7 separate regions of the Homo sapiens genome follow, and all the other regions are linked to region 4. The links are contacts of gene promoters, found by promoter capture Hi-C in blood cells and fetal thymus (Javierre and others, 2016). All regions are on one chromosome and are shown on one strand. The core of a region is centred on a gene start or on the middle of the fragment in contact, and the rest is flanking DNA. Distances in the headings are between cores, read along the strand shown.

The links. The method cuts DNA at HindIII sites, captures the fragments that hold promoters and counts their contacts. A CHiCAGO score of 5 or more calls a contact.
Region 1: the fragment with the promoter of C1orf35 here is called in contact with the fragment with the promoter of ABCB10 in region 4 in 8 of 17 cell types (neutrophils, naive CD4 T cells, non-activated CD4 T cells and 5 more); the score reaches 12.1 in neutrophils.
Region 2: a contact is called between the fragment with the promoter of ARF1 here and the fragment with the promoter of ABCB10 in region 4, in 1 of 17 cell types (monocytes). The highest score is 6.5, in monocytes.
Region 3: a contact is called between the fragment with the promoter of EXOC8 here and the fragment with the promoter of ABCB10 in region 4, in 1 of 17 cell types (naive B cells). The highest score is 5.9, in naive B cells.
Region 5: the fragment with the promoter of GNPAT here is called in contact with the fragment with the promoter of ABCB10 in region 4 in 1 of 17 cell types (total B cells); the score reaches 5.6 in total B cells.
Region 6: the fragment with the promoter of GUK1 here is called in contact with the fragment with the promoter of ABCB10 in region 4 in 4 of 17 cell types (monocytes, non-activated CD4 T cells, total CD4 T cells and 1 more); the score reaches 12.8 in monocytes.
Region 7: a contact is called between the fragment with the promoter of TRIM17 here and the fragment with the promoter of ABCB10 in region 4, in 1 of 17 cell types (non-activated CD4 T cells). The highest score is 5.2, in non-activated CD4 T cells.

What each region holds. Positions count from the first base shown.
Region 1 is chr1:228,101,827-228,105,178 of GRCh38, reverse strand. C1orf35 (chromosome 1 open reading frame 35) reads left to right here and starts at 1,854. Exons shown (of 8, transcript NM_024319.4): 1 at 1,854-2,045; 2 at 2,130-2,280; 3 at 2,491-2,536; 4 at 2,619-2,701; 5 at 2,797-2,869; 6 at 3,014-3,099. The coding sequence starts at 1,952. RefSeq lists enhancers at 927-1,646, 1,647-2,367, 2,368-3,087, 3,088-3,352 and silencers at 2,090-2,359, 2,520-2,689, 2,940-3,019. The HindIII fragment of the contact is 8,620 bases long and covers 1-3,352 here.
Region 2 is chr1:228,081,365-228,084,522 of GRCh38, reverse strand. ARF1 (ARF GTPase 1) reads right to left here and starts at 1,815. Exons shown (of 5, transcript NM_001658.4): 1 at 1,758-1,815. RefSeq lists silencers at 1,429-1,528, 1,559-2,378, 2,389-2,518. The HindIII fragment of the contact is 7,793 bases long and covers 1-3,158 here.
Region 3 is chr1:231,336,276-231,339,642 of GRCh38, reverse strand. It overlaps EXOC8 (exocyst complex component 8), which reads left to right and starts at 1,791. Exons shown (of 1, transcript NM_175876.5): 1 at 1,791-3,367. The coding sequence starts at 1,898. It overlaps SPRTN (SprT-like N-terminal domain), which reads right to left and starts at 1,350. Exons shown (of 5, transcript NM_032018.7): 1 at 1,039-1,350. The coding sequence starts at 1,259. RefSeq lists silencers at 66-115, 2,187-2,356 and enhancers at 1-738, 1,137-1,336, 739-1,613, 1,917-1,976, 2,017-2,066 and 1 more. The HindIII fragment of the contact is 2,369 bases long and covers 1,545-3,367 here.
Region 4 is chr1:229,557,327-229,560,348 of GRCh38, reverse strand. ABCB10 (ATP binding cassette subfamily B member 10) reads left to right here and starts at 1,642. Exons shown (of 13, transcript NM_012089.3): 1 at 1,642-2,213. The coding sequence starts at 1,697. RefSeq lists an enhancer at 863-1,052 and silencers at 1,223-1,922, 1,983-2,432. The HindIII fragment of the contact is 4,467 bases long and covers 1-3,022 here.
Region 5 is chr1:231,239,581-231,242,933 of GRCh38, reverse strand. GNPAT (glyceronephosphate O-acyltransferase) reads right to left here and starts at 1,722. Exons shown (of 16, transcript NM_014236.4): 1 at 1,478-1,722. The coding sequence starts at 1,555. FSAF1 (40S small subunit processome assembly factor 1) reads left to right here and starts at 1,759. Exons shown (of 7, transcript NM_152379.4): 1 at 1,759-1,910. The coding sequence starts at 1,793. RefSeq lists enhancers at 820-1,709, 1,690-2,029. The HindIII fragment of the contact is 8,993 bases long and covers 1-3,353 here.
Region 6 is chr1:228,138,704-228,141,875 of GRCh38, reverse strand. GUK1 (guanylate kinase 1) reads right to left here and starts at 1,597. Exons shown (of 8, transcript NM_001159390.2): 1 at 1,513-1,597. The coding sequence starts at 1,573. RefSeq lists a silencer at 1,011-1,570 and enhancers at 1,581-1,810, 1,921-1,970. The HindIII fragment of the contact is 28,593 bases long and covers 1-3,172 here.
Region 7 is chr1:228,414,895-228,418,165 of GRCh38, reverse strand. TRIM17 (tripartite motif containing 17) reads left to right here and starts at 1,305. Exons shown (of 7, transcript NM_016102.4): 1 at 1,305-1,627; 2 at 3,053-3,271. The coding sequence starts at 3,094. RefSeq lists a silencer at 1,737-1,846. The HindIII fragment of the contact is 7,787 bases long and covers 1-3,271 here.

The DNA of each region.
Region 1 (3,352 bases), core at 605-3,104, 1.5 Mb after region 4:
CTCCACAGCTGGGCCCTGCCCACATGGCCCAAGTCCACCCTGGCCTGGCAAGCTGCAATGGCACCCAGGAGATGATGCCCTACACCCCAGGGAGCCTTCCTGGGAGTCGGCCAGTCACCTTCTGTGTGCCTGGCTGTGGCCTGCTGCTCTGCCCTCGCCATGCACCTGCTCCATGATGAAAGCTCATGCAGTGCCTCATGAGGGAGATGGCAGCCAGTACTTGCTAAGTAGATAGATGAGCCAGACGTGTGGCTGTCTGCCAGCCTGCTCTAACAGCCTGACCCATGGACTGGGTCACTAAGAAACAGAAATTTCCCACAGGACAGTAGACCTGTATTTCATCCAGTTCAACCTGTGGCTGGAATTGCCCCAAAAGTGGTGGCAGTAGAGTTCCCACAAGGGAGTGCCCCACACCATCCTGAGATGGGGCTGGTTAGGATTCTACAGATTGAGCATGCCAGGGTGATTCGCCCAGAGCATTTATTCGTGGGGCTTTTGTACAGAGTGGGCTGCAGCAGTTCTTGCAATAGGCAGTGAGAGAAATGAAGTTCTCTCTAGGTATGTCCGTGGGGGAGGGGGTTGGTGAATGGAATTTATATGAGGGTTTGAGGAATCTGGCTCAGGCTGAGTCCAGTTTCTTTCTGTGTTTTGAGCAACAACCTAGTTACTGTCATCTGTGCCTGGGAACGTTCATGGCTATGGCTCGGGTTCAAGTCTGCAGAGGAAATTATACAGTTGGCGAAGTCACAGAGTGGCCAAGGGACTCTGTTTCTCAGTCAGCACTGGGAATGAAAGTGGAAAGGGGAAGCAGGGGTACGTCACAACCTCCAAAATCAGGGTGCCCAGCACGCTGAGGTTCTGGTAAGGGGTTTCTTCCAGACTGCAGACTTCCTTCCCGCTGCCTTCACACAGTAGAAAGCTGCACAAAGCTCTTGGGGTCCCTTTTATGAAGGCTCTGTCCTCATGACCTAGTCACCTCCGAAGCACCAACGCCTTGGGGTGAGGATTTCACATGGGAGTTAGGGTGCACATTCAGTTTAACACGGCAGGGATAGGACCAGTGCTCTGAGGGTGTCTGGGTAGCTGCTGGTTCATCCAGAAGTTTACTGGGTAATACTCAGAAATTCCACAAATCATTAAGGTCATTACCTTGTTAAGCTCCCGATATGGAATCGCGACTAGCAGTGACCAATTGGCGGTGTTAACTAGGCGCATCTTGTGTGTTTTCTTTTTTCTTTTTTTATGAGACAGGGTCCGCTCACTCGTTCAGGTTGGAGTGCAGTGGCGCGAAGTCCTGGGTTCGAGATCCTCCCGCCTCAGCCTCAAAGCGTTGGGGCTACAGGGGCGCGCGCGCGCCTGGCCCATTTTAACTTCTTATTTTTGAGACAGTCTCGCTCTGTCGCCCAGGCGGGAGTGCAGTGGCGCGATCTCGGCTCACTGCAACCTCTGCCTCCCGGCTCAAGTGATTCTCCTGCTTCAGCCTCCTGAGTAGCTGGAATTACAGGTGTGCACCACCACACCCGGCTAATTTTTGTATTTGAGTAGAGACCGGGTTTCACCATGTTGGACAGGCTAGTCTCGAACTCCCGACCTCAAGCGATCCGCCCGCCTCGGCCTCCCAACTTGCTGGGATTACAGGCGAGAGCCACTCCGCCCGGCCCCGTTTTAACCATTTTTAAACTTCCAGTTCAGAGGCGTTCCCGCGCCCGGCAGGGTAGGCGCAGTGCGCAGGCGCCCAAAGCCGACGTGGAGGTGATGCGCGGGAGCACAGATCCGGGGCAGTGCGCTGCGCAGAGGCGCGCGGCGAAGCCGAGTGGGCGCGGGAGTGACGTCACGGCGCGCGACGCGGAGGCGGGGTCGGGCCTGGGTCCGACGGTAGTGGGTAGCGGGTCTCGGGTTGCGGGTTGCAGGTTGCAAGCCGCAGGCCCCAGGCAACTGCCTTCCCGGCGCCATGTTCGGCTCCAGTCGTGGAGGCGTGCGCGGCGGGCAGGACCAGTTCAACTGGGAGGACGTGAAGACTGACAAGCAGCGGGAGAACTACCTGGGTGGGTGCGCGCGGTGGGCGGGCTCCGGGCTCCGGGCTCCGGGATCCCGGGCGGGCGCTGGACTCACAGCGTCTACGTCCGCAGGCAACTCGCTGATGGCGCCGGTAGGCCGCTGGCAGAAGGGCCGCGACCTCACCTGGTACGCCAAGGGCCGGGCGCCATGCGCGGGCCCGAGCCGCGAGGAGGAACTGGCAGCCGTGCGGGAGGCGGAGCGCGAGGCGCTGCTGGCCGCCCTGTGAGTGTCCGCGGACGGCAGCGGTCGGTGCCTGGGACGGCGCTGCCGGGGCAGGGTGGGGCCGGGGCCGGGGACTGGGGGTCGGGCTGGGCGGGAGCGGGGCTGCGGGGACTCGCGCGGGCGGGACCCTGAGGACGAAGGCTGGAGTGGTGAGGACCTGTGGTGGGAGGAGGTCCGTCCGTCCTGACGCCTGCCCCGGCCCTCTCGCAGTGGCTACAAGAACGTGAAGAAGCAGCCCACGGGCCTGAGCAAGGAGGTAACTCCCCGGGGTGGGGGGCGCGTGGAGGGCCGTGGGTGTGGGGCCGACTCGAGCGCTCCCTGTGCTCTCGCACCTGCAGGACTTCGCGGAGGTCTGCAAGCGGGAAGGAGGCGACCCCGAGGAGAAGGGCGTGGACCGGCTGCTGGGGCTGGGGAGCGCAAGGTGCGGGCGGGTTTCCAGGGGAGGGCAGCACTGGGCTCGATTGCTCGGGTGAGGCGGACCCCTGCCGTACTGTCTTCATCGCCATGTCCCTGCAGTGGCTCCGTGGGCCGCGTGGCGATGTCCCGAGAGGACAAGGAGGCCGCCAAACTGGGGCTGTCTGTGTTCACGGTAATCCCCCGCCCCGCCTGACCGCAGCAGGGGCTAACAGGGGTGGGGCGGGGCGGGGGCACTGAACGGAGCTCCCCGGGGCGCTGCGGGGCGTGGTGTGGGGCCGGCCCGCAGACTCCTCCGCAGAGCTCGCTTCTCCCGCAGCATCACCGCGTAGAGAGCGGCGGGCCCGGGACCTCGGCAGCCTCGGCCAGGAGGAAGCCGCGGGCGGAGGATCAGACGGAAAGCAGGTGAGGCTGTGCCACCTGGGCTAGCTGTGCCCCGGGGTGGGGGGTCTCGGGAGGACCGGAGCGGCTCCCACTCGGGCAGGTGGCAGCTTCTCTTGGCGCACCGGCCCGGCGGGTGGCCTGCCCTACTTTACTTCCTGTCCCAGTTACTCCTAGGTTTTTCTCTAGGGGAGTTTCTCGGGTCACCCTTGAAGAGAGGTCCTAAGTACTGGCAGTGGTCGGGCGCTGTGCCGTGGGAGGGCACTCAGGACCTGGG
Region 2 (3,158 bases), core at 566-3,065, 1.5 Mb after region 4:
TCACAGTCATTGTGTGACTCAGCTGTTGTCCAAACCAACTGTTTCAAATCTTTTTCAACTAGCAAATCCGAAAATCTGCCTCACAGGCAACAGCATATTCCTACTGCTGCAGTGATTTGGATTTATTTTCAACAAGATACGCCTGAAGACAAGTGACAGCTATTCTCCAGTCTACCAACATGTGAAAACATGGACAACACACTCTAACAATGTGTCCAATGAGATGTGTGACTAACATTTACACTACTCAATTCTTCTCAATTTTGGACCCAGCTAATAGTACGGCATTTCAGGACCTTATGGTTCTGGCTACCTAGGCAGTGCTGGTGAAAATTCAAATTAAATGAGGACACCATCCATGCGGTCACACGTGTTAGACAATGGCTAACGCAACAGCAGAGGGCCACAGGGGCCGCACACAACTGCACCGCGGCATCTCACACTCCTCCCAACACACTGCGGAAAACGCCAGAACCACCAGCCTTGCAACAGCCGGCAAAGAAAACTGCTGACCACTAGTTCTGAAACAAGAACTACAACTGCCCACTCCAACAGGGGCAGTGGCACCAACTCTACAGCTCTCAACTAGGCGGCGACTTCGGGGACCATCCAAAGCCTCCGACCTCCCTTCTTTTCCTGCCCGCGATTCCGAGTGCATTTCTGCTCAATTCCTGCAAAGCAGCAACTGGCTGCCTGGACTGAAAGGGAGTGCCAGGAGGTGCCGTCGGAATGGTTATTTAACACTCTAGGTGCGCACGGCTGTCCAGCCCCAATCTCACACGCCGTAACCACCCAGGCTGTGCTCCGAGAGAGCGCTGGGGCCGGCCTCTGCGGCCTAGAGTCTGCGAGCAGGTCGTTCCGCAGGCAGGTTAAAGATTCAGGTAGGTTAAAGATTCACCAGCTCAGAAGAGGCCTTCTTATCTACTGCCGACAACGTCAAGGAAACCACCCTGGAGTTAAAGCGAAGATCGACCGGCCCTCTGGAGGCCACCGGTGCCCTGAGTGCTGACCCCAAATTGCGTCTCACTGGTGTGAAGGGAGGCACTCTGGGCTCCCCCGGAGGTCCACGCATTCCGTTCAGCAGACAGGGAAGGGCACGGGGTTCCTGTCCACCTGCCCGCCCGCTCTCACCACCCCTGACCCGGTACCGTCTTCACAGCAAACACGAACTGGATGGAGTCGGGAGGCGAAGATGCAAGCCCCCACCACCTACATGACCTTGACGGCGTCTCAGGCCGCCCGAGCCTCAGTTTCCCGGTCCCCGAGGCGGGGGTCCGCCCGGATGCCGCTCGCTCGCCTGTACTCGGGTGGGGGAGGCCCCACGACCCCCACCGGCCCCCGCGGCCGCTAATCCCAACCGTCCACGCGCGGGCGGCCTCGGGAAACGAGAAAGGCAGAGGCGAGGGAAGCAGGAAGCCCAGGTTTCCTGGAGAAGAGCCCGGCGTCCAAGCGGACTTCCGGGCGACGGGCGGGGGCAGGGACAGGCAGAGGAGGACAAGCGGCCGCGAGCGACTTCGGGAACCTGTGAGGGGTGCGAGGAGCTCACCGACCCGCCCGTCCGCCCAGCCCCGACTCCGGCCGGGCCCCAGCCTCAGCCCGGCCCGTCTGCGTCCGCCCCCGGCCCGGCCCTGTCGCCGCCGCCGCCGCGGGGGTCGACGTGCCCTTCGCGAACCTCAAGTCGCCCCGAGGCCAGTCCCCAGCCCCCGCCGGCTCCAACGTCTCTGCGGCCCACACCGGCCCGCGCCCCTCGCCCTCACCTCAGAGGCTGCTGCTCCGAGCCAGGCGTTGGTTTTGCTCCCACAAGATGGCGGCTCTGACGGCGGCCACGTCAGCGCCTCCGGGCGCGGGGCACGCCGGGTAAGGGGCGGAGACGCCGGGAACTCCGCCCACCGTGCGCCCGCGACGCAGGCGCGCTGGCTCCGGTAGGGCTGCAGGGGGCGGGGCCGGGGACACCCTGCCCCGGGCCGCGGTCTTAGCTCGCGCGCACCCTAGGGGCGCGCACCCGTCTGCGCCTGCGCCTGTGAGTCTTCCGCGAAGACAGCCTGTGGCTCACTCCCGCCCGTTTGGCGTATTTGGAGACTGAGGCCCGGGGGGCTCCTGCAGCAACTGGAGCTGCGGGGCTGGTTGCCACCTTCCTCCTCCCACACCCGGCAGTCACCGGGAGGCCTCGGGGACTGCGTGAGGACGGGGGTGCGAGGCGCCCCTCGCCGGGGTTGGGGTTCCTGGCTCCCAGGCTGCGCGGGTCCACGTGCCCCGGCCCTGTGGAAACCTGTGGCACTCGCGGGGCCACGGCGGAAGGTCCGAAGGCGGGAGGCTTGCTGTGTCCCCGCACTGGCCTCGGCGCCCCGGCGGCCGCAGTGACGCGCGGGCTCATACCTGGGCCCGGAGCAGACGCCGGGGAGCTGGCCGCAGATGAAGCAAAGGAGGAGGTGGCCTGGGGACCCCGGGGTGAGGCGGGGGCCGTGGGGGTGGGGCCCAGGGTTGGGGACGGCCGCCCAGAAGGGAGGTCACAGTGGTCTCTAATGAGCTGGCCTTTAAGCTGAGATCCAGTTGAGGCGGAGGAGATCCCGCTCTCAGGCACCTGAACAGAGGACCGTTGCAGTCCCTCTGTGTTCCGTGTGCTGGAGGCCTGGCTCTGCCCACCACCCTCAGGTCTTCTTGCCTCTTCCCTTGTGCTGCTGTGAGGGGTTGGGCTTGTGGGAAAGTGTCCCTGCAGCACAGTGCCCTGGGTATTGTGGAGGTCGGGAATCAACCTGATTTGTGCAGGCCGAGGCCCGGGGGCAGGGCCTGAGGGGTGGGATCACTGGGCCTGGCCCAGGCCTCCTGCGCCCCTTTGCTGCCCCCATCACCTACGTTGCTTGCCCCTTGGGCAGGGCGTCCTCACTGCCTCTGGAGGCTGCGATGGGCAGATCTCTCCCCCAGGGCTGCACCTGCGGGGGCTACGAAGGTCCCCAAAAGCGGTGACCCTCCTGCCCCCAAATTTAGTCCCTTTTTCTGCCTGGGGCTCCCTTCCGAAATCTCACCTCTGTGAAGCTGTGGCAGGGTTGTCTGTTTAGGGGAAGGACGTCTCCCACCCTACAGGCATCTCAGATACTCTTGGAAAGCCCCAGGGAGGGTTGTGGATGCCTGTGGAACCTTCTGGTTGTGCTGCCTCTCCC
Region 3 (3,367 bases), core at 542-3,041, 1.8 Mb before region 4:
AGCAGATACTTGCATTTCACCTAATTAATTAGTTACAACCCCCGCGGGCGCCTCCCGCGATGGCTCCGATCCCCGCCGGGCAAGGAAGGAAAGCAGCGTGCTCTCACCACCCTGCTTGAGAAGGTGGAAGGCTGCAGGCACCTGCTAGAGACGCCAGGACCGTACCTGGTGTACAACGGGGACCTAGTGGAATACGATGCGGACCACATGGCCCAACTGCAGCTCCCCTTGCCCTAGCTAGGCTGCAACAGCTCAAAGGCAATCCTATTCTGCTACTCCCAGTCTCCTTCCGACAAGTTACAGTTCGGTGTTATTAACAAGCAGATATCTCCAGTAGCATATCTCCAAAATCATAACAGACGCCTGTATAAAGGAAATTGGTACTTTAAACACAATTTAATATCATATCTTAATTTGTTTGACAGTAGGTTGTTTTCTATCAACTCAAAAACAAGCATGCTGGGATACAACTGTATCTTAAACTTAACCCTGTTCACGTGCAGGAGTAGATTATTATTTCAAATAGGGATTTCTGAAATTTAGCGTGTAGAAAAAGAATCGTTTTAAAAGCATCACTGAAGATCCCCAATGCAACACACGAGCTAACTAAAGTGGGTTTCCTAACGGGAATAGAGGAGGAGAACACACATCCTTTGGCAGTTACTCTGCGTCCTCAGCACTTTCTTAGGTGCAGATTTGGTTGCTTCTCCCTTCTGGGTCCTACAGCACTATCATAAGGCAAATCAGGAACTTGTTATTTTCAAGTGAAGTGAGATTCAAATAAAAATCTCTTTTTTGTTACGGCCCTGAGTCCAACCGTGGCGGTGTGGTCTACACAGCTTTCTTATTGTTCGAGTGGGAGAAAAGGTAAGGAAGACAGAAACACGCCGAGGCAGGAATTGCCAGGTCCAAAACCAGACTCCCCTCATTTAACGCCCCCTGGGACCGTCGGACTAGAGAAAGGAGAGAAAACCAGGGCCGGGGGCTGCAGGAAAGCTGCCAGTCCCGCCTCTTTCCCCAGCGGGGCTCGGAACTCACAGGGTCATTCGCACGCTCCACTTCACCTCGACGGCCTCCAGCTGGCCCCAGAAGAATTGGTCGTTAAACTGAACAAACAGTGCCTGCAAGTCCGGTGTGGGGTCCACCAACTCCCACGACGCGTCCACTAGCGACAGGGACTCCTGGGCATGATCGCGCTCCGCCTCCTGCAAGTTCCACTCCTCCTGAAGCCGCAGTGCCAACATCAAGTCATCATCCATCGTTGCCAGGATCACAGGCGGGGTCCGCCGGCGTCAGGCTGGCTCCCCAGTTACGCCGCGACCCCAAGCCGCCTAGCCGAGGACCAGGACTAGCTCCTAGGAGATGCCGGCTCTCGAGACGGCCCGTCAATCCCGCGAGAGTTCGCGGAAACGCGCTTGAGAACGAGAACGGAGCTTACCCCAAACGCCGAAGCCAAGATTCTAGGGCTTTAAAAAAAGCAGTCAGCATGACACCTCCTAGTGGGCGCAGAACCTGGGCTCACAGGGCTCGGGCCCTACGAAGCTTTCAGGAAGCTAGTTTCAGCCTTTACTCTTTGCCGGTTATTTCAAACCTCAACGTCACGCTCGGTTCATGCGCAGTACCGAAATTTCTCTCGGCCTCTCCCTCCCCTCACTTCCGCAATAGCTCATCTTGCGCATGCGCTTTAACCGATGGCATTGCTGCGCAGGCGCAATGTCTGCGCTCGGCCCACTTGCGCAGGCGCAGTGTCTGACGCTCAGACCCGGCGCAGGCGTACTCGTCTCGTTCCCATTCCTGCTTCCTCAGCCCAGGAGCTCGGTTGGCCTTGGGTGGGTCTAGACAGCCGCGGCGGCTGCGGCGCCGATAGTGACAGTGAGTGCGTGAGACCCGGAGAGAAATGGCGATGGCGATGTCGGACAGTGGGGCGAGCCGCCTGCGTCGGCAGCTGGAGTCAGGGGGTTTTGAGGCGCGGCTGTACGTGAAGCAGCTCTCGCAGCAGTCGGATGGGGACCGGGACCTCCAGGAGCACCGGCAGCGCATCCAGGCGCTGGCGGAGGAGACGGCGCAGAACCTGAAGCGCAACGTCTACCAGAACTACCGGCAGTTCATAGAGACGGCCCGCGAGATCTCCTACCTGGAGAGCGAGATGTACCAGCTCAGCCATTTGCTGACCGAGCAGAAAAGCAGCCTGGAGAGCATCCCGCTTACGTTGCTGCCTGCCGCTGCTGCCGCCGGAGCCGCCGCCGCCTCTGGAGGGGAGGAGGGAGTCGGTGGGGCGGGGGGCCGAGACCACCTCCGAGGCCAGGCCGGCTTTTTCTCCACCCCCGGGGGTGCCTCCCGCGACGGCTCCGGTCCAGGCGAGGAAGGAAAGCAGCGCACTCTCACCACCCTGCTTGAGAAGGTGGAAGGCTGCAGGCATCTGCTGGAGACGCCGGGACAGTACTTGGTGTACAATGGGGACCTAGTGGAATACGATGCGGACCACATGGCCCAACTGCAGCGGGTGCACGGCTTTCTCATGAACGATTGCTTGTTGGTGGCTACCTGGCTGCCTCAGCGGCGTGGGATGTATCGCTACAACGCTCTCTATTCCCTAGATGGTTTGGCCGTAGTCAATGTCAAGGACAACCCGCCCATGAAGGACATGTTCAAGCTGCTTATGTTCCCCGAGAGCCGTATTTTCCAGGCCGAAAATGCTAAAATCAAACGAGAGTGGCTGGAAGTGCTGGAGGACACCAAGAGGGCCCTCAGTGAGAAAAGGCGAAGGGAGCAGGAGGAGGCAGCGGCCCCTCGAGGGCCACCCCAAGTGACTTCCAAGGCCACTAACCCATTTGAGGATGACGAAGAAGAAGAACCAGCTGTTCCTGAGGTAGAGGAAGAGAAGGTGGACCTCTCCATGGAATGGATCCAGGAGTTACCTGAAGACCTGGATGTCTGCATTGCGCAGAGAGACTTTGAAGGGGCGGTTGACCTGCTGGATAAATTGAACCATTACCTGGAAGATAAACCTAGCCCACCTCCTGTAAAAGAACTAAGGGCCAAAGTGGAGGAGCGAGTTCGACAGCTCACTGAGGTGCTAGTTTTCGAACTCTCCCCAGATCGTTCCCTGAGAGGTGGTCCGAAGGCTACTCGCAGAGCAGTTTCGCAACTGATCCGGCTGGGCCAGTGCACGAAGGCCTGTGAGCTATTTTTGAGAAACAGGGCAGCCGCTGTTCATACTGCAATTCGTCAGCTTCGCATCGAAGGTGCCACTTTACTCTATATTCATAAGCTGTGCCATGTCTTCTTTACCAGCCTTCTCGAGACTGCAAGAGAATTTGAGATCGATTTTGCAGGCACTGACAGCGGCTGCTACTCTGCCTTTGTG
Region 4 (3,022 bases), core at 393-2,892:
GTGATTCGCCCGCCTCAGCCTCCCAAAATGTTGGGATTACAGGTGTGAGCCACCGCGCCCGGCCGCTACCTCCTTTTTGAGCCCAACTAAAGAAACATCAAGGATTGATACCCTCCCAGTTGAAGAGAAAGTGACAACTTTAACCCAAATCTCACCTTCCTCTTACTTTCTCTTTCCCATTTTCCAGCTGCCAAACTAAGGGCAGCTGCTGTCAGTTTTTGTAAATAAAGTTTCCAGGGCTGGGATTAGAGCGAGAGAAGAGAGGCAGGATTGTGAAAGGTCAGGAGTGGATACTCAATCAAAATTTTTTATATTTTGTTCATTACGGATTTTTTAAATTAATTTTGATTTTTAAAAATATTGCACTAAAATGTTTATGTTGATTATTGAGGTTTTTTTATTTTGTGAACCCATAAAATTTGCAACTGACAGTACCCTGTCCAGGTCCAGTAAAAATACCTAGGAGTCTACAAAAATCTACCCACGACTCACTGGACCTCAGGTACATATCCCCCCCCGCCCCCATGAAGTCTCCATAAAGTGTCCCAGTGAGTTTTAATGTTCTCTCCTGTCTTTCCATGCACGTGTATTAAGATGCATTGCCTTCTGATTAGTGTTTTCCACTTCGAACAGCGGGAATGCCTCGACCACGCCTGTCTTCAAATTTCTGCTCTAGTTAAGAAACGATCTCAGGCCGGGCACGGTGGCTCACGCCTGCAATCCCAGCACTTTGGGAGGCTGACGCGGGCGGATCACCTGAGGTCAGGAGTTCGAAAAGAGCCTGACCAACATGGTAAAACCCCGTCTCTACTAAAAATACAAAATCAGCCGGGTGTGGTGGCGTATGCCTGTAATCCCAGCTACTTGGGAGGCTGAGAAGGGAGAATCACTTGAACCTGGGAGGCAGAGGTTGCAGTGAGCCGAGATCGTCTCAAGAAAAAAAAAAAAAAGAAAAAAAAGAAACGATCTCTTCCCTTCTCAAAGTTATATACATTTCACTATTCGCCAACCACCTCCTCCACGCCGTCCAGAGCTGAGCTGACACGCAGCGAAGTCCTCTCAGTGGTCCCTCCGCACCTCAGCCCTGTGCTTGGCAGCGAGACGAGTGACAGGGCCGCCCCAGCATGGGTCTCCCGGGCCGCGGACCCGCCCCACGCCGTATCCAGCACGCTGTCCTCCCGCCCCATCTTTGTGCCGGCCATCGTGTGGTCGCGTCTGCGCGCTCCGCCCGGTCTGCCGGCGTGAGAAAGAGCTCGTGTCGTTCCCAAGTTCAGACCAGAGGGGACGGCGAAGCGCGAAAAAGTTCCCTGCGCCCAGTACGCAGGCGCAGCCGTGCTCCTGGGCTTCCCGGGCCTCGTCCCAGCTGGCGCGCCCGGCGCTCCTCCGCCAGCGGGCAGTTGGGGGCGCTGCAGGGAGGGCACCCGAGCGGGTTGGGGGCGCTCGGAAGGGTGGCTTGCAAGGTCCGGGTAGCTGCAGTCCCCGGAGTGGGGCGGAGAGGCGCGGCACCGCGCGGACGAGGATGGGGCGGGGGCGGGCGCAGCCCGAGGGTGCAGGCACGATAAGGCGGGTGACAGCCAGCGGGGAGGGGCGGGCGCCACCGCGTCCACGCCCTTTGCTCGGGGCCGGGCCGGGAGGGTCCTCGGGCTTTGCGCGCGCCTGGCCGGCGGGCTGAGGCGTACGGGTCGCACGCAGCGCCATGCGAGGCCCCCCTGCCTGGCCGCTGCGGCTGCTCGAGCCACCGAGCCCTGCCGAGCCAGGTCGGCTCCTGCCGGTAGCCTGCGTGTGGGCCGCGGCCAGCCGCGTTCCCGGGTCCCTATCGCCGTTCACTGGCCTGAGGCCGGCGCGGCTATGGGGCGCGGGGCCCGCGCTGCTCTGGGGCGTTGGAGCCGCGCGCCGCTGGAGGAGCGGCTGCCGGGGCGGGGGTCCGGGCGCCTCGCGGGGCGTCCTGGGCCTCGCGCGGCTCCTGGGGCTGTGGGCTCGCGGCCCCGGCAGCTGCAGGTGCGGGGCTTTTGCCGGGCCAGGCGCTCCTCGGCTCCCGCGCGCCCGGTTCCCGGGCGGTCCCGCAGCCGCTGCCTGGGCAGGGGACGAGGCCTGGCGGCGCGGGCCGGCGGCGCCTCCCGGGGACAAGGGGCGGCTGCGCCCCGCAGCGGCCGGACTCCCGGAGGCCCGGAAGCTCCTGGGGCTGGCGTACCCTGAGCGCCGGAGGCTGGCAGGTAGGGTCCTCCCCGGCCACTTCCCTCCGCCGGGCCTCTCCTTCTCCACACGCGGGGTCCCGGGGCGCCGAGAGGGACACGGCCGGGCCGCAGAGCGCGTGTCACCGCCGCCTCTCCTGGGCCACTCCTAACCCCGGAGGAGGGAGGGGATCGCTCACCTCAGAGTAGCGTTGTCAAGATTTCGCCTTAGCTGGGGACTCGTTTGCAGATTTTACACTTGTTTTCTTGTTGACACACGTTATATATGTCATTATTGGAATCTTTGGGTCTGTTCCACCACCAACTTAGTGGGAGCATCTGTTTTGGCTTAGGCAGCAAAATGAGCTGGAGGTTTTTCCTTGGAAAAAAAAATTCTAGCCAAAAATATGCCTATTTTGTTATTAGGCGTTTATACTTTTTTTTTTTAACCAAAAACACATTATTTGCTTCAAGCGAGTCTGTCAAGCAGTCACCAATGCTTTCACAGCGGAAAGCAAAACTTTCAGACTTGTCTCTTGTGCAGGAAGTTACAGCACTGTGTTCAACAGGCCACACCAGTGATCTGTTCAGTAATTGAGTAACTTTTTTAAAAGAAGCCAAAATGAATGTTTTTAGAAACAAAATTTAAATAGGACAGTTTTCTATAGCTCCTCATTTTTTAGCCATAATTGGAGGAGTGTTTAGATGCAAGGGCCTTGTAAGATCTAAAATTTTTTCGATTTCTCTAAATCTTCACTCCTTCTATAAACATCTGTTGAGCCCTCATTCTGGACTGGGCCCTGGGTTTACAGTGGCATGCACAAGGAAACATGGTCCTCACTTCTGCTGGG
Region 5 (3,353 bases), core at 473-2,972, 1.7 Mb before region 4:
AAGTAAAGGTTATCCAGTCACAAAACAGTAGTGAGAACTACCAGTAAAGAGTGGGTTGCTGTCCAGCATCAGAACTACAGAATGCTCAGATACAACTGCCATAGTTTTTCACATGAAAAAGTGGACTCAAGTCTTATTAAAGAACCGTTGGTAAAGGGGAAGTAAAACAAACAAACAAACAAACAAAACCAACTCCTTCCTTTAATGTACAAAAGGAAAATTCCAACCAATTCACAAACCAGTTGGGAGCTTAAAAAGCTACATGTTAAAAGCTGGATCTGCACAGCAACCCTCTTCCCTTCGTGCCTGCTCTGGAGTAGCAGAGTCAGAAAACAAAGTTGATATCCACCACAGAACTGTGGGGAAGATAAGATCAATGAAGAGATATATCTAAATAATAAGGCTTATAGGCAGTTAGCAATCAGAAACCGAAAGGTCTTGATAGAGAGGGAACAGAAGTTTCTCCATGTTCCAAAGAATATTGGTGTCTCAATTTGAAGGAACCCATATATTCTCTTTCAAAACTGGGGTGTTTATCTTGCTCTGCTGTGTTATCCCTGTTTTGACCTTTCTGCACAAATGAACACTACATTTAAGCCAAAATTGGACAGTAATCACCAGGATATGCTAATATGCTTTTAAAATGAATTCTTTCATTTTCTCCTAAAGTAGCTAAAAACTAATTTAGTGGTTAAAAACAACAAGAAACAAACAAAAACCAAACCAGTTGCCCCAGGTCTGTGCAATCCTGAAGGCTATAAAGCTCCCATCTCATAATTTCTTCATGAAAATCGTGGGTGACCAACATCTGCCAGCCAAAAAGACCCGTTAAAACCAAGAGAGGAAGAGGGGGTTGGAGGAAAAAAAGACAAGCGGGAGAGAAGCTGGGTGGCGCTGGCTGTCCTCCAAAATGATTTGTGGAAAAGGTACAATAATGACTGGAAGACAAGAACAGGCAATAAAAATGTCTAGAAGTTCTAAATTTTCCTGAAGTGTTTAAAACTCTATTCCCACATACAAGCCAAGTGCTCTACTCCCAGGAATATAACAGCAGCATAGGGCGGGGTGCGGAGCCACAGGCTATCTCAGGGCGGGTCAAACCCGCAAGTTTCTCAGGTTTGCCCAAAAGGTAGCTCGACATGCCCTCGCTAGAGATGGGGAGACTCCAATTCTCATTCCTCATTCTCGTGTCCAGGAGCTTTCTGAAGGCCCCAGGGCCTGATAGAAAGAAAGAGAAGGAAAAAGTGGAAAGGAACCAAAGGAACCATAATCCGTAGAAACTTCCAAAAGCATGCACACACAGACACACAGCGATACACTGTTGTCCTGGAAACCAATCCAACCAACTAACCCCTCCTCGGGAGCCTAGGGGCCAGCTCTTTTGGGCAAGGGTGGTGGGCCGGAGGAATAGGGACTGGGAGAAAGGGGTACTATTTCGCGCGGCTCCGCTCTGGGCCTCTTTTCCCTGGGCGCCTACCGAGTAGAGGAGCACGACAGCGCTGGGACTGGTTGGGCCAACGGAGAAATAAGAGTTAGATGAACTGGAAGACTCCATGGTGCGGCTGCCTTCCCGGGCGGGGTCTGGGATTCTTTGCTAAGCCGTGGTGGTGCTCCTGCTGGGGGCGGTTCTTTCGCTCAGGACGGCCCTACTTCGCCTAGGGCGGCGGCACCCTCTGCAGCCGCTACACAGGATCCCGGGCGCCGCCATCTCAGCCAGGACGGAAGCCGCGCAGGGCCCTGCAGCGCATGCGCGCAGTCGCGGAACCCGGAAGCGGGGGTGCAGCGCGGCAGAATGAGGGTTGATTCCTCGGCTGACCCCACAATGTCGCAGGAGCAAGGGCCGGGGTCCTCCACGCCTCCCAGTTCTCCGACACTTCTTGACGCTCTGCTCCAGAACCTTTACGACTTTGGTGAGTGCGGGGTCCCAGGAGCCCACGTGGAGAACAGATTTGAGGAACGTGGGTCTCCTGTGTTGCCCGTCCTGGGTTGGCCTCTGCTTTGAGGCTAAAGGTTCTTGCATGTCAAGCACCCTTCGTCCCACCTGGTTCCAGTAGCGAACACATTTCTCCATCGGAAGTCACCCCTCGACCGGGCTCTGCTGAGTTATTCATCAAACCTTCCAACTCGTCCCCAAGTGTGGGGACCATCCTACTTGCTTGTAGGAAGCACCAAGGCTTTCCGATTTAAAAGTAGCCCGCTTTTCCACGTTTTCTTGAGCCCTGGGAAGTCCCCTTTCCCCATGCCACCCCCAAGACCTGCCTGACCCTGGTGCGATGGTGTCATTTCGCTCTGGGGCCTCGGGCCTGTTGGATAATACACCAGCTTCATCCTTGTGTGTCCCTCTCCAGAGACATCATAGTCCTTGGCGAGTTGTCCTTTTCACGACTTTTTTTTTTTTAAACAAGTGCGCTGATCTTTTACTCTCCGTTCTTTGTCTTGATGGGGGAAAAGGAAAATAAAAGAGCCTATTAAAGTCGCATGGCATGTCAGTAGGAAGACAGTGCCTCATACTCTGAAGAGCTTTCCCGGGAGAAGGTGACACCCTTTGCACATGCACCAAAGAAAATCATTAGATTTCAGGACAACACACATTTCTTAAATTTACAGCGTGATATTTTAAAAGCTATTTTTATTTTGGAATGACTGCTCAAAATTCTAAGTTCACCTAAACAGTAGGAATAATAGTTAAAACTGTTGAGAACTTGCCATATAGCACATGCTTTTCGTGTATTTGCTCATTTAATTTTCAACTTCATGAAATAGACACTGTCATAAATCCATGATTGCAGATGTAGAAACAAGTACTAGAAGTTCATGAAACCTGATGCAGGTTGTCTGACTGGTAATTTTTGCAGAGCCTGGGTTCTGATTCTAGCCCCAGACCCCATGCTTGTATTAACTAGCATTTCTGTGCCCTTGGACATATTGGAGGACAGAGAAGACTTAGTCTCTGACCTTGAGAAGTTTAAAATCTAGAGGAAAAGACTATTCTGCAAAATAATATAGTTCATGTCAACACAGGCTGGAAATCATGGTAGGAGCTCTGAAGGCATTGAATGTGTCTATTCATTTTTATATCCTTAATGCCAAAGTTTAGTTGGCTCTTAAATGTTTATTGTATAAAAGATTAAGCAAATAGTAGCAAGCATAAATCAGCAGCTGGTAATTTAGAGAGCTCTGTGGTATTTGTAATACATGTGAGTAAGGATGCCTAGGATTCTGGTTAGAACTTTCAGGTGACTGGTCAGAGCTTCAACAAGTGAAATATAGAAAGAGGAATTAATAGAAAACAAAGGCATTCAAATTGAGCCAGTTGTCTTAGGTTCATCTTAATTCCTAACTGTGAAAGAAAA
Region 6 (3,172 bases), core at 348-2,847, 1.4 Mb after region 4:
AATCAGCTGCCTGGCAAGAAGCCACACAACCCACAACTGTAAGGACCTGCCAGGCACGTGGTCTCCACAGGAGCTCCGAGATGGAAGGTCTCCTGGGAGCCGCCGGCGCAGATCCATGTTCCGGAATGGTCTCTGCCAGAACGCTCCCTGGACTGGGCTCCCATGCTGCCCCAGCAGCCGCTTTCCTGGAAAGGCACTCCCTGCTGTGGCGGCATAATCTCCTCCTTCTGGCTTCCAGCCATCCTAAGGACTGAACAGAGTCACCACCTTGCCCCCGGCCCACTGTTCGAGGAGATGCTAACAGAGGGCTTGACCTTCTGAGAACCGAGAGAATTCAGCCCCCGCCTGGCCTCTCGTAAGACACAAACCACCAGACGTGGGCCTGGGCTCTGGGCTGGGCCAGGTGGATGAAGGGGAGGCTGGTGGTCCAGGCGGCTGCTCTTGGCTGCAGGGTTTCTGGGCACACATCCGGGTAGCACGCATCCTGGCCTTCAGCAACCTCGTTTTAAATGGGACCACACCAGGAGCAGCCAGGGCGCTTTCATTTTCACTTTCTTTCCCCGGGGGGGACAGGAACATTCCTTTACCTCCTGAGGAAATCGGGCTCTTCCAGAGCCACAGAGGAGTGAAGGCCCCAGCCCTTCACGATGCTGCGCGGCTATGTTTGGGTCTGTCCATCAGGGAGAAAGAAAAACCGGCCGAGTCTTGCACAGGGTCCTCGACAGCAACCCCAGGTAAAGAGCAGAGCAAGCCTGAGACAGGAAGGGGCCATGAGCCCAAAGACAGCAGAGCAGGACCCAGCCCGGGGCCTCAGGACCGACCTCTTTCATGCAAAGACGAAACCGAGGCCCACCACACGCAGGGTCAAAATCAACTTTGAGGCACCTGCTTCCCACACCAGTCCTTACTGGGGCATACTTCTAAGGCGACGCTCAAGAATGGCAGCAGGGCAGCTTCAAGAACCCCAACCCGGACTCTGGCTTTGGAGAATCCGAACCCCAAATGCCACACCCATGCGTCGGGAAGGCCTGCTGTTTCCCCAAGTCCCCGTCTCTGCGCCGTGCCGCGGAGTAGGCAGAATCCTGGGAGCCCCGGAATAGCCGGCTCCATCCGCCCAGGACCCCAAGGCTTGCAGGGTGAGGTGGGAACCGGAGCGCACACCGCGCCGGGCCAGCGGTAGGGACTCCCAGCTGCTCTCTTTGGCGGCGCGCCCAGGTGTCGGGAAGACACCGAGCGCTCCTATACGCCCGGGGAGCAGCTCGACACTGCGATAACTGCCGGCCTGCCCAGCTCCTGAGGAGCGCCCCGCCCTCCGGGACCCGGGCTCCGCTGCGTTGCCAGCCCGTCCGCCCTCCAGAGCTCCCCCGTTCTCAGGGCCCACAGTTGAATGCGGCACAGGGCGTCTCGGCTAGGAGGAGATCCGGAGGCGGCGTGGACTGGGCGACCGCAAAGCGCAGGGACCGCTGCCGCCTCGACCCGAGTCACCCTCGCGATCGCGCTTGTCGTACTCACCGTCCGGTGGGGCCCGGCCCAGGGCGGCCGCAGCCAGCCCGGCCAGCGGGCGCCGCAGCATCCGGGGCCACCTCTTCCGCCCACTGAACCTACGTGACAGCGCCGCACCGGCCCACCTCCGCCCGCGCGCGAGACTGACGTCATGAGGCGACTGCCCCGCCCATGTCTCACTCGTTCTTCCCCGCCCCTTAGGGAAGTACTTACCTCAGTGCCTCGCTAGCCCCGCCTCCACCTGCGCTGGCCTGTCGCGACCGCAGGGGCGTTCAGCACAGCGCCCTCCCAGCCCGTCTTCTCCCGCTGCGTCACAGCGCCACGCCGGCCCGCCTCCACACAGCGCGAACTAACATCACGACCCGCCGGCCCCGCCCACGGCGTACTTGTCCCGCTTGTCACTCAGAGAAGTACCTCAGTGCAGCGCGGGCCCGGCTTTCATCTGCTACGTCACAGCGCTGCCTCAGCCCGCCTCCTCCCGCTTATGTCACAGCGCCGTTTCCGTCCTCCATCTACACTGCAGGGACCTAACTAACGAACGACTCCGCTAGCCCGTTCCAAACCGGCCACTCTCCAAAAACCATTAATTGGGGAATGTGGCCGGGCGCGTGGTTCACGTCTGTGATCCCAGCTCTTTGGGAGTCCGAGCCGGGAGGACCGCTTGAGGCCAGGAATTGGAGACCAGCCTGGGGATCATAGGGAAACCCCTTCTGTACCAAAAAATTTAAAAACTTTTTTGTGCCTGTAGTCCTTGCTACTCGGGAGGCTGACGTGGGACGGTCGCTTGAGCCTGGGCAGTCGAGGCTGCAGTGAGCGGTGTTCGTGTCACTGCACTCCAGTCTGTGTGACAGAGCGAGACCCTATTTCTTTCTTTTTTTATTTTTTGAGACGGAGTTTCGCTCTTGTCACCCAGGCTGGAGTTCAGTGACGCCATCTCTGCTCACTGCAACCTGGGCCTCCTAGGTTCAAGCGATTCTCCTGCCTCAGCCTCCCGAGTAGCTGGGATTACAGGCGCCCGCCACCACGCCCAGCTAATTTTTGTATTTTTAGTAGAGACAGGGTTTCACCATGTTGGCCAGGCTGGTCTTGAACTCCTAACCTCAGGTAATCCACCAACCTTGGCCTCCCAAAGTGCTGGGATTACAGGCGTGAGCCACTGCACCTGGCCACGGGACTCTATTTCTAAAAATTATTTTAAATTTTTAAAAAAGATTTATTGAAGGCTGGGTGCAGTGGCTCACACCTGTAATGCCAGCACTTTGGGAGTCCGAGGCAGGCAGATCACCTGAGGCCAGGAGTTTGGGACTAGCCTGGCCAAAATGGTGAAACTCTGTCTCTACTAAAAATACAAAATCAGCTGGGTGTGGTCGTGGGCCCCTGTAATTCCAGCTACTGGGGTGGCTGAGGCAGGAGGATCACTTGAACCTGGGAGGTGGAGGTTGCAGTGAGCCGAGATCAAGCCACGGCACTCCAGCCTAGACGACAGAATGAGACTCCGTCTCAAAAAAAAAAAAAAAAAGTATTGAATGTGAACTGCAGGAGAGCAAGAAAAAAAGTAAAACTTTAAAAAATACAACTTCAAAAAAATGTGTTGGGGCTGGGCACCATGGCTCATGCCTGCAGTCCCAGCACTTTTGGAGGCCAAGGCGGATGGATCACTTGCCCCGGA
Region 7 (3,271 bases), core at 56-2,555, 1.1 Mb after region 4:
GTGAAAGGTGCATCCCTCTACTGGAGGATGAAGCGTGATGACTAGGCGTGGGGACTCAAGGCCAGGAGAAATGGCCACCAGTCAGGACCTGGGCAGGGCTGGGGGCGGCATTTTGGCTGAAACCGTAAGAGACTTTTAAACCAGAGCAACTCCATCTTGTATAGAGGCTGGGTAAAATAATTCTGAGACCTGCTGGGCTGCATTCCCCAGAGGTTAGACATTCCAAGTCACAGGATGGGATAGGAGGTTGGCACAAGATACACGTCATAAAGACCTTGCTGATGAAACAGTATGTGGTGAAGAGGCCAGCAAAATCCCACCAAAACCTAGATGGCGACCAGAATAACCTCTGGTTATCATGACTGCTCATTATATGCTAATTTTAATACGTTAGCATGCTATGAGATACCCTCACCAGTGCCACAACAGTTTACAGATGCCAAGACAAGGTCACAGTTACCCTATATGGTCTAAGAAGGGGAGGAGCCCTCAGTTTCTGGAATTGCCCTTCCTTTTCTGGGAAACTCATGAATACCCCACCCCTTATTTAGCATATAATCAGTAAATAGCCATAAAAATGGGCAACCTGTAGCCCTGGGGGCTGGTCTGCCCATGGAGTAGCCACTCTTTATTCCTTTACTTTCTTAATAAACTTGCTTTCACTTTACTCTATGGATTTGCCCCGAATTCTTTCTTGCCCAAGATCCAAAACCCTCTCTTGGGGTCTGGATCAGGACCTGTTTCTGGTAACAAAACCACCTGGGGTGTCGGCAAGACCCACCCCGTCCCGCCTGGTTCTAGGGGACCTGACCTGCCAGGTGGTCCCTCCAAACTGGTCCGCCCACAGGATTGGGACGCCCCTCCCTGTACCCTCAGCCTGATGCTGACTGCCAACCATGTGGGCAGACCTGGCGGCTGACTGGCTGCTCCTGGGGACCCCCTTCATAGCTTCTCAACAGGCACTCGCTCCTGCTGCCTCGCCCCCACCCCAGCCCACACAAACTCCTCTCCATCCCCTACCCCGACCAACTTAGCCCCTCACCTAACCCTCCAGCCTGGGGCTCGCGTGCCCTCCCGCAGCCCCAACCCCAGGTTGAGAAGCCTCTTCCAATCCCACTCCCCCCACCCTGACGCTCGCCTGCCCGCCCCTAGCCCCACCAGCTGTCCCCATTCCACTCCCCACCCCCAAGTAACCCCCCAACTCCCCACCCTCCACACTCCCTTAACCTCCCCTAAAAGTCCCACCCCAGGCCAACAAGACTCCTCCCTTCGCTGGGCTGTGGACCACATCCTCCCCACCGCCCAGTCAGCACCCGCTGCGCCTGTCCCCGGCTCGTCCAGAGCCTTCCACCCCCTGCCGCCTTCCTTCCCCAAGCCACCCCCAACCTCTCCTAAGAGGCGCCGCCCCAGTCCCGGCCGCCGAACACTCCCTCGCCCAGCATTCCCCTCCCCCGCCGCCCCCCAGCCCCCGCTGACGCCACAAAGTCCCTAGGCCTCCCGACCCCAGGTCCCCACGCCCCGGGCCGGGCCGCAGCCTCCTGGGCTTCGTGGGGGCAGACCCAGCCTTTCCCGGCAGCGAGCGCTCGGCCAGGTGCACTAGGCGCTGTGCGGGCCCCCCTTCCCCGCGGTGAGTAGCCCCCACCCCGCCGCCTAGGCTACCCTCCTGTGGCGCCTGGGCCACGACCTAAGCCTAACCCGGTCCTCCTCGCCCTCCAACGCCCGGCCTTCCCGCCTCCGCCGGCCGCCGCGTCCCTGGAGGGGCTAGCGCGCTTCAACAAGGTAACTCTACCGGGACCCTAGCGGACCAGAGCGGGAAGGACAGCCATCCCGGCAGCCAGAGCCAGAGCCCCAGGCCCGCTGCCGCTGTCCCTGCCCGGCTTCGGTCAGGGTGGGCTGGGTGCCTCCGTTAGGGCTCTTGGGGGGAGTCGGAGGGCTGGCGCCGGGTGGTTGGCGTGCAGAAAGCTCCGAGAAACTGGACGTGGGACAGAGCCGGGGAAGTCTGAGACCCCTAGACGCCCTCGCTTTAGGGGATGGCAGAACGGAAGGGGAGAATCGTGCTTGCAGTGTAGACGCGATTTTCAACTCCTTCTGCAACTCGGTCCCCATAGCAACCCCGTGGCGTAGGCGAAAGTCTGTAGATCTCCACTGCGTGGGGTCGCGAGTGTTGAGATTGCAGGGGGCATCTATGTGCATGCTTGTGTGCCTGTGCGTGTGTGCGCGCGTGTACCTGTGTGTACATGCATGTATGTTTACCGATATGTGCATCTGTGCCTGTGTGTGCTGTGTTTGTGGATCAGTGTTTCTGTGCGTACATGTTTGTATTTGTGTGGTGTGTATGCGTGGGTATGCGTGTGTGCACATGCACGTTTGTATACATACATGGGTATGTGTATGGGTGTTCGTCTGTGCGTACATGCACACGCGTGTTTTTTCTGAACCCCACCTCACTACCGAATGGAAGAGAGCTTTTTTCCTCTGATAGCCCATCCCTTCTTCCTTTGGTGTACGGGGTTTTGTTAAAGAAAAAATTCTGACATTTGAAAGGCTCTTTAGTCAGGCTACTTGCAATGGGAGAGTTGCGCCAGCAAAGACAGCTGGGGATGTATGGGGGAGTTGGAGTGGGGATCTGGGTGGGGTCAGTGGATGGAAAGTGATTAAGGGAAGGCTCCAAGGGTAGGGGCTTCTCCCTAAGCTGACCTAGCAGGCTTCTCCAGAAAGGCAGGTTGAAGGCCTAGCCGGCAACGGTCTGTCGGGGAGGAGGAGCTGATGAGATGTGGAGCTGGGGGTAGCCAGCAGCAGGCGGAAGTGGACGGGTAGGGTCCAGGCCCAGTGGAGAGGAGAGGCGGAGGGGCCTGCAGAGCATTGGTCAGGGAGGGTCTGTGTAGTTTCTGGGGAGGCATCTGTGTCTGTTGTTGACAAGGCTAAAAATGATGACTCTGGACTCTCTAACTGGACTGCAGTCCTAGCCCTCCTCTGTAAAGGGAGGCTGTACAGGACGGTTGCACACTGCCGGCGCCCAGATCATCGGGCTGCTCCCTCCAACTCTCTCCAGAGTCCCTCAAGCGGGAACCTGCCTCGTGTCTCCCAGGAGCCATGGAGGCTGTGGAACTCGCCAGAAAACTGCAGGAGGAAGCTACGTGCTCCATCTGTCTGGATTACTTCACAGACCCTGTGATGACCACCTGTGGCCACAACTTCTGCCGAGCCTGCATCCAGCTGAGCTGGGAAAAGGCGAGGGGCAAGAAGGGGAGGCGGAAGCGGAAGGGCTCCT